2 separate regions of the Homo sapiens genome follow, and region 1 is linked to region 2. The links are contacts of gene promoters, found by promoter capture Hi-C in blood cells and fetal thymus (Javierre and others, 2016). All regions are on one chromosome and are shown on one strand. The core of a region is centred on a gene start or on the middle of the fragment in contact, and the rest is flanking DNA. Distances in the headings are between cores, read along the strand shown. Region 1 has its middle 99 kb from the start of LINC02358. Region 2 holds the start of KIT (KIT proto-oncogene, receptor tyrosine kinase).

Evidence for each region. Contacts are between HindIII fragments. The CHiCAGO score rates a contact against its expected background, and 5 or more counts as called.
Region 1: a contact is called between a fragment that was not itself captured here and the fragment with the promoter of KIT in region 2, in 1 of 17 cell types (neutrophils). The highest score is 5.4, in neutrophils.

The regions. Positions count from the first base shown.
Region 1 is chr4:54,941,656-54,946,442 of GRCh38, reverse strand. No RefSeq gene overlaps it. Among named protein-coding and RNA genes, the nearest start is that of LINC02358, 99 kb to the right of the region's middle. The HindIII fragment of the contact is 4,216 bases long and covers 1,227-4,787 here.
Region 2 is chr4:54,654,962-54,659,685 of GRCh38, reverse strand. It overlaps KIT (KIT proto-oncogene, receptor tyrosine kinase), which reads right to left and starts at 1,729. Exons shown (of 21, transcript NM_000222.3): 1 at 1,605-1,729. The coding sequence starts at 1,671. RefSeq lists a silencer at 2,150-2,444. The HindIII fragment of the contact is 16,971 bases long and covers 1-4,724 here.

The sequences.
Region 1 (4,787 bases), core at 2,085-4,584, 290 kb before region 2:
AATTTCTTTCACTACATCAAATCAAGCCTCATGATTGTTTCGAAATAAACATGCCATACCCAGAATGTTGAATCTCCACTCCAGCAGCTGGGTTCCGAACAGATCTGGAAAGGTCTGGCAAGGAGGCTGGGTTGACCAATGGTAGGACTCATTCCTGAGAGTGGACTTCCAGACACTATCATTTTAGACCTGATTGGACCCAATTACATTTTAAAGATGAAAGGAAGCCAGGTTTTTTTTCTGCACAGTGTTCAAATTCACTCAGGAAACATCCTTCAGTGCTTCCGTCTTCTTCCAGAGCCTACACCTAGACAGCATAAAAGAAAACAGCCTAGCCGCTAATATCTCCAAATGAGCTGTCATTACCAATGCCTTGCTCATGGTGTCACTGGAGTGAGACCATGAGAGAGAATATTTCAAAGATTCACAGGTCAGACTGCAAATAAACCTCAGAGGAAGTGTCTAACAGACACTTACAGGCAAGAAAACAGGAAAACTGAAGCAGGAGAGGGCGAGAGGGCAAGGAGCGCGGGATGCTGGCCTTTACACTGCCTGCAGGAGGGGGAAAAGAACTAAATCTAGGATGATGAGATAGGCGGTAGACAAGACTGATGAGTTATGCTACAAAGAGTGTGGGGTGACTCTCCAAATAACATATTTAGCAGATCAGTGGGAATGTAAGATGTCTCACTGTAGTCAACTGGCGATGCTTTTAGTAGAATCACGGATGTCAATATTGCAATCTCCCTTCTCTTTCACTCATACACTCTCATGTTAATGAGCACCTTCTCCAGGCCGGGTCCTGTGCTTGATCCTGGGGAACAAAGCAGATACAGGTCCTGCCTTCCCTCCCCTCCTCTCCTATCCTTTCCCATCCTGTACCCTTCTCTTTCTCTCCCTCCCTCCCTCCTCCTCTGCCAGATCCTTCCTTCTTCCTCTCCCCTCTATGCCTAGGGTCTAAATAAATTTGGGGGAAGATTAATATTCTGTTCAGTGGAACCATTGTTTGCTAACCACTTACTAATTAATTTTCCAAATAAGCAATGCAGGACTGAATTGCACATCTTTTCTCACAGCAGTTGTTATGTGTAGACATAAGGATCTCCCCGCTCCCCACCCTGGGGTGCCTCCATCAATCTCTCCCCCCATGTTTGCTGCTTCGCACTCCACTCCCCATGAGCTGCTTATCTATCCACAAGCTTATAATGTCAGTGCCTTCTAAAGCTTCTTTAGAGTTCCCTCCTCTTCCCTTCTGTCCTCATCCTGTCAGTCAGGATGAAGAAAATTAAGTTGTGTAAGTCTGTACATTTCTCTGTGATCCCAGTTTCCAGGCCCTAGAGCTGTCTGGGAGCTGCTAGGTCACCTGGGTCTGGATTCAGATGGGAGACGTAAAAAGCCGCAGGAGCTCTGCGAAATAGGTGCCAGTGTGTCCCCAAAGCTCCAATTTTCTAGTCCATAACTTGGAAAGCAGAAAGAAAGCTGTGAATCAAAGCTCCAAGGAAATTGTTTATAGCAATGGTGTCAATGAACCAGAACCGAAAGCAGGATGAGGCTCCCAGGCCACCTTCTACTCTTAGGAGCTGTGCTGCAACATACGGTGTGTAGGTCGTGCACTGCACAATAGGCTCAGTGGAGAGGGCAGCTCCCTTTCAGCTCTCCCAGCCCAGCCAGGGGCTCTTTGCAGAGCTGCATTTACCACATGGAAGGGGGATCTTGTTATGCACTTGCCTAGCTGTTGGCCCTAGGGTTCATCTGCTTAGAGAGGCACCTTTTTTTCAGATTCACACAGAGGGACCATATATGCCTACTCTGATTACGAGAAGAACAAAATTACAAACCGATTGACTTTTTAAAGTGGTTTTTTAAAAAATTAAATTGCTTTTAAGGTGTGTTTTAGAATTATTATACATTCAGTGCTATCTCTAATACCTTTCCTATTTGATACTATAGTGATAATAGCTCCCATTTATGTGAACACTGTAGATGCCTGGTGTTGCACTGGGGGCCTGAATCTATTATTTATGATTCTTCCTCCCCTGCCTGCTTTTGCTGTGGTTCACTACAGGGAGAATATTCCTCCTACTTCATTGAATTTGGCCTTGGCCCTGGCCCTGTGATGTTTTGGCCCATGGAATGTGGGCAGAAGTAACAATGTTCTGGTCTTATAGACCAGCTGAGTCTATAAGAGGCATGGTGAGTTGCTGCCAGTCCTCTTGAGGTTCTATCTTCTGCCATGAGAGAAAAGCATGCCACCAGGCAATTGTCACCCTTTGACCTGAAATCGAGACGTGTAAAGCAGACCTGAAACAGACCCAAGCCTAGAGGCCAGAAAAGCTCAGGCAAGAGCAGCTGGGTACATCTAAACTACAGTGAATGGAAACATGAATACAACATGAATATTCATTATTTCAAGTCATGGAGAATGGGGGAATTATTTGTTATGCAGCATCACAGTAATAGTGGACACCTATGATGTGTTTTTTTTTTAAAAAAAGACAAATTGTCACAACCACTCTTTATGTACAGTATTTCCATTTTACATAAAGGAAAACCAAGGGTCTGAGAGGTTAGAAAACTAGTTTAAATTAATAACTGGTATATCCAGTATTAACATCTAGGTCTGCCTGATTCCAAAGCCTGTTCTCTTTCTACCTCCCTCATGTCATATCCAGAATATTGACACTATGCCACCTATAGAGATCCTTAACTAGCAAAAATTATGCTATTATAGCCAATAACTTTGCATTCTACTTACTAGAGCTAGGCAAGGAATCATTTTGCAAGATGGCATCCAAAATGTCTCTCGGCTCAACTGTCAGTTCCATAAAACGTTCTATTAAGCATAATTCATCCTTCCCTTTCTCCTCTATGCACTCCACACTTCCTGTTATTCAGAGTTGTAAGGTTTTAAAGAGGATTCACATTTCTCCAGGCCGAGATTACCTATGGCTGCAATAGAATTTGACTTGCATTTTGTTTGTTGTCAATACAATAAGCCAGAAACAGATGCAGATCATTGAACTGAAGAATGACTTTTCTCTCTTGATGGCACTTTGAGCAGAAAAAACATCTTTGTCTGATGTATTGTTAAATGAAAAAAAAAAAGCAAAGTGCAGAACAATGTGTATTGTACATCATTTGCATATTTTAAAAGCATATATATGTGTATGTATGAATGTTTATATCTACATAGGATGTCTCTGGAAGAATACTCTAGAAATATAATGGCAGTTGCCTCTGGTTTGGGAACATGGTGGCTGATGGGGAGTGAGGGTGGGAGAGAGAATGATTTTTCACTGAATAGTCCTTTAAAGTTTTTTAAATTGGTGTTCAGGTTTATATTATTCCCCAAAATAATGAATACATTTTTTAAAGACAGAAACTACTTCTTCTACGGCCTATCCCTCTTCACTTTATTTAAGCTGTGTCTATTGTGTCTCAGACACACTGACTTTTTGAAGGGACTTGAGAGGAGGAGCTAGCCCAAGAGGAAGAGGCCCTTTCTGGCATGTTCTCTTCCTCTTGATAGTTGAGGTGCATATAAACATCTTCAAAGTCTCCACGGACAACAGAGACAACACGAACTGGAGCCCACTGGCTCCCACAAGTGAAAGTGATTTTCTTCATTCATGACTCAAAGGCTGTAGAGTAAAAAACAAGAACTGATCAGCTGTTTTTTTGTTTTGTTTTGTTTTTTTTTTTTTTTTTTGAGACGGAGTCTCGCTCTGTCGCCCAGGCTGGAGTGCAGTGGCGGGATCTCGGCTCACTGCAAGCTCCGCCTCCCGGGTTCACGCCATTCTCCTGCCTCAGCCTCCCAAGTAGCTGGGACTACAGGCGCCCGCCACTACGCCCGGCTAATTTTTTGTATTTTTAGTAGAGACGGGGTTTCACCGTTTTAGCCGGGATGGTCTCGATCTCCTGACTGTTTTGTTTTTAAAGACCAAACACGTCATCTTATCTTGTTCTGAGTGAGACAGCTACATGATGAACATCCTAAAAGTTGAAGACCTTGGATTTCCACCTGCAAGCCAACGATGTTTTTCTGTTAAATTCTAATCATATTATTAGAGTTTATTAATTGTTTTAACAAACAGACATCTATGTCCATTCATTTTTTTTCAAAGACAGGGTAAATAAATCAACTTTCAAATCATGTCCTTCTGCAAACACCAGCTGCACAGGAAAAGGAAGGCCGCCTGTTAGCAGCCTCTCGCTGAAGGGCTAGGCTGAGGCTGTCGGTGTGCATGCCCAGAGCAGAGCTGTCTGTTAATGAGTCCTACAGCTCACAGGAAAGAACCTCAGCGGAAAGCAAGAAGGCAGAACAATTGTGTGAACTTAGCTCCCTTTCTTATTCTCCAAACATCTGGCCACTGTATGTGTCATTTCTTTGATTCAAACTTGTTCTGGCGTTATTGATAGGGAAAATCTCCACCTGGGGGCTGGAAGGGACTGCTTCTTCATCAAAGAATAGTTAGCACAGACTCACTTTTAATAGCAAAATAATAGAGCAAGTCACTTATAAACCATGTTTCTGAAATTGCCCAGCCATGCTCTGCCAACTCTTTATGGGGAGAATAAGACAAAAGCTGGAAGCAAAGAGAGAGTAAAGAAAGCCCTTACGATTAGGGGTGAAGAAAAAACAAAGCCTGCAAGACGCCATCTTGGTGTTGGCTAACGATGGGGAAAATCTCTGCTGTTTAATATAGTGCATTTATAAACACAGATGTCAGGGACGGCAAGTTTATTTTTGTAGTTCTGCATCTTACATTTCCTCAATTGATTCTCTT
Region 2 (4,724 bases), core at 480-2,979:
AGGTGATCAAATCCTCCAGAGAATCCGAACACTCCCTCGTGACCCCTGCTGACCCCTCCTGCTGCACAGGGGTCCAGATGCAAGGCCTCTCTGCCCCCCACAGGAAAGCCCTCACAATAGTTACAAGTCCAGGACGCTGCAGACTGCGCCTGGAGACTTTATAGAGAAACTGACCGGTAGTCGACAGTCTCAAAACCGTTCATTGCGCCGCTTCCTTTCAAGCGCTTGATTCCAGCTAAGACTCACTTTCTATCCTTACATCATCAGGGTAACCTTAAAGGTTTGTTTTAAAAAATGACCTGGGAGATAGCAGGGCTTCAGGGGTGAGCTGGGCGACCTGCACTCGCCCGCACCAGCGACACCTGGAAAAAAGGGAACGGGAGGCAGGAATCTGACCAAGGGGCTCCAGCAACCTGCAAATCCTTCACCTAAGACCCAGTTCCCGCGCGGATATACCTGGATTTCTGTTATAGCTTTAAGAACTGAGTAGGATTTGCAGAAAGTTCCACGCCATCTCCCACCCCACCCCCAGGCAGCCCTGAAGTATAGAAGTCCCGGGGGCGGGGAGGCGGGCGGTCACGAATCTCAAAAATTTCCGAAGAAAACAGGACCTGCGAATACAGGTCGCAGACACCGGGAACTAGGGGCTTTCAGAACCCGCCAGGCAGGCCGGGCACTCTGGCCGGCGTGCTAGGCGGTTGGAGTCAGGGAACGCAGAGTCCCAGCACGCTGTCCCTTGCCTTCCCGGAGCAGGCGGCAAACACAGCCTCCAGCCGCCCCGGGGCGCGCGGCAGGAATGAAACGGCGCCGCGGCAGAAAGGGGCGAGCACGGGATGTACGAAAGCAAAAAGTCTGCAACCTAGCGGCTGCTTTCCACACGCCCTGCCCAAGTTGTCCCTGTCGCCACCACCTCCAGGCTCGCGGGAGTCCGGCCCCACAACAGCCCCACGCCGCGCACTCCCAGCGCAAAAGCCTAACCCGGAGGCGGGGAAACGCCGCAGCCTTCGATTGGTCTCCACGGGTGGCGCCGCGAGCAGAGGCGGCAGCGGGTCGGTCCCCAGCTCTGGGCACAAAGAGCGCCTGCGGTTGGAAGGCAGTAGCCGCAGAGCAGAGAAAGGGCTCTCTAACTTTGCCCTCAGCGCGGCGGAGAACCTGCAGGCAGGTCCTCCCGGGCGCCGGTCACACACACGCAACTTTTAACAAAAGGAAGCTGCGGCCGCGCCTCGCACGGCAAGAGAAGGCGCTCGGTGCAAACCCCTGAGCCCCCCGCCTCCGCCCCCCGCGCAACGTCGGCACAAAAGCCACCCCAAACTCGCACGGAGCCTGCAGCCTCGCTCACGCCTAACCCCCTCTTGCTGTCCCCATTCCCGAAGAACCCCGGATTCGCGTCCCCCACCACCAGCAGCTGGGGTCTCCTCGCGCAGGTGAGCGAGGCAGGGCGCCGGAGAGTCCGAGGGCCACCTGGAGTCTCCCCGGAGGCTGGAACGCACGGGCACTGAGGGCCCGCAGTCCTCTCTCCGGATGCACCCTGGCGGGTACCACCCTCCCAGGCACAGGCTTCGCCGAGTAGTCGCACGGTCGGGGTGCCAGCCGCGGTGTCCCACCTGTCTGGACGCGAAGCAGTAGGAGCAGAACGCAGAGAAAATCCCAGGCGCCGCGAGCGCCTCTCATCGCGGTAGCTGCGATGGGATCCGAGCTCTGGTCCACGTTCCAGCTCTCGCCCAAGTGCAGCGAGCGCGGCAAAGCCGAGCCCCCAGAGCCGCGAGCGGCGAGCAGCAGCCCCTCCTCCCAGCGCCCTCCCTCTGCGCGCCGGCCACGCCCCTCCTCGCCTCCCCTCCCTCGCGCCCGCCCGGGTCTCGCTTCTTCCCGGCGGCGTCTGGCCCCTGCTCTTTCGACGTGTTAATGCCGGGGGGCCGTGCCCGCCGGGAGGAGGAGGGCGCGCGCGCCCTCTCTCCCCGCTCTTGACTCCGGAGCCCCTTTCTCTCTCCACCTTTCCACCCCTGGGATGTGGACGGCCAGGCTGAGGCCGTTCCCGGACCAAGGAGGTGCTGCCCGCTCGCTTTGTGAAGCTGGGCACCACGCACACGTTAGGGCACGGGCCCGCCACCTGCCAGGTGCTCCCCAGACAATAAAGGTCGACTGCCCGCCCCTCGAGCACGTTCGGGCGGGAGGAGGCTGGACGCCGCTGCTCGTGGAGGTGGCATGGGGATGGGGAGGGGAGCGTTAGGAAATTGAGCCCCGACATTCCCCTCCAGGCCTGTTAGGAGCTCCTGGCACCGCGGTAAAGGCTGAGCCCGGTTTCGCTAATTGTTTCTGCTCAATTTCTCCACCTGCTTCGTAACCTGTAGGAACACAGTGGGTTCCTATTGGTCGGCGTGGCCTCCGCCCAAGAAGCCCCTGCCGGGACTTGTGTGGAGACAGGGGCGATGGAGGGCGCGTGGCGAAGTTTGCTCTGGGAGCCCAGGTTTTCATACACGTTTTCCCCCCTCCCCCCAACGCTGCCAACCCCAGTAATGATTTCTCTGCCTCTGTAACAGACGACAGTTTTAGGGCTAGGGCTCTTAACTGCCCTTGCCGGTCCCAGGAGCAAAATAAAAGTACAATGATTCTCTTAAGCCCGATTTCACTGCCCAGAAAGTGCCTTACCCACAGTCTCATGGTGGATCCTTGAACGGAAAGCAACAACAGTATCTGTATAGGGGTTAATAGTTCTTCCCCACAGCGACTCGTCTTTTCATGCTCACGATAACAGCTTTGTGAGGAGGGTAGAGCAGGTATGTTTATTATTGTAGTGAGGGAAGACCCAGGGCTTGAACACTTATTGGAAGACCTACTCCAAGAAAGATGAGCTTTCCCTATGCATTCTGATAAACTAATAAGACATCCCTCCTGAGAGCTTAAGAATGGAAAAATAAATGGCAGATGCCCATCAGAAAAAGGGATAGAACAGATACACCTAGACTCTTCTCTGAAGTATCATCCAAAATTTACAGTTGCCCAGCTGCCCCACTTCATTTAATATTGAAAGCTCTCCTGTTGTTTAATAGTGTGAGGACCCAGGTTGATGTAAGAAAAATGATTTTTAAAGCTAATCACTTAAAAATTATCAGTGCTAGAGGGTGATCAAATGATCAATGTGTATAATTGCCTCTCTTTAAATGTAAGTATTTACTCACTCAGCAAGCATTTGTTTAGTGTCTGCTGTGAAGCAAGGAGGAGCTAGGTACCAGGAGTACTATTATTAATAGACAGATATGCAGATGTGGCCCCTGCCCTCACAGTCCTTATAATCAAGTATGGGGACCTACATCCCAATCTCCCAGCAAAAGGTTCGAGTCATGCGGCTGTAGGAGAACTGAAATACCAAAGGTCTCTGTGCTCTGGGCCATCAGATCTCATGTTTTTCTTAGGATGACAGATAAAAGATACCACTCAAAGCAATCATAAGTTTCTGGGATCTTGATTTATTTCTAAAATTCATTTTGTATTGAGAAAAAATCACTATGAGTTAAAATATCAACATTATGCCTGAGAGAGAAAATTTACAATTTTCTTCTTCAATCAGCTGATATTGGAGAGGATAACATCTTCAAAAGAGTGGGTGAAAAGAGACCATATTGCAATTTAATTCTAGGCACGGAACTTCTATCAGGAAAAAAAAAAACTGAATAGGGAGTTATACCATGTTGGACCGTCATTCCTGTTTTTCATTCAGCAAATATCTTTTGAGCACCTAGGTAGGCATAAGACCCACATAAATGAGTAAGACAAAGTCTCTGTCTAGGGGAATTCACAGTCCAGCAGGGAAAATAGGTACTCAAGTAAGAAACTATAATATCTGCTAACAGAGCTTATGTTCAGCCAGTACACACCAATTTGGCCTTATTGGTTGACACAATATTGAAATCCTTCTGTACTGATTACAAAAAAAACCATACCCTAAAATATCTCCCAGCCCAACCTTGAGACACGCTAAATCTCCTTAGATCCAGGAATTAAAATTTTAATGCTGGCCACAACAGAGAGCCTCCAGTACTTGTACCTTTAGGGTTGTTAGCTGTTTTTAATAATACCCACTGCCTGTTACATAAAGAAAGGAAGCATATATATAAGGCACTATGAGTGGACATATATGCTGTAATATATAAGGAACTATATTATAGATCAGCAGTGTCCAATGGAACATTGGCAATGATGGAAATGTTTTATATCTCAGGTAGGATGTATGGATTAATTCTATACTGTATTTTGTGATAGTCCTGGGCATGTTCAGGGATTGTGCTTTATGTATTTCATTGTTTTCATAATTCTTTTAGCAAGGACTCTCGATTGCAACTTATAGAAGCAGCTTAAATTAAGCAAGCAAACAAAGAAGCCTAAATGTATTGGCTCTTATAACCAGAAAGTCCAGGGACAATAGTGTTTCAGACTTTCCTAGATCCAAGGACTCAAAGTTATCAGGACTTGAAGGGCGAGTGTGTGTGGATGCATGTGTGCACAAGTGCACGTACACTTTCCTCCACCTTTATCCTCAATACTTTCCTGTGTTGTTTTGCCAACCTTGTATACACTCAGGGCAGCTCTAGGCTTACAGCTCACTAGTACCAACGGAAGTAGAGTTTTCCTGCCCCCATAAACATCTCCTGTAAAAGTTTATGGGAGAAACCGAGTCTCACTGACCTGGCTTAAGTCATGTGCCCATTGGGAAGGAGCCAGAGGGATGG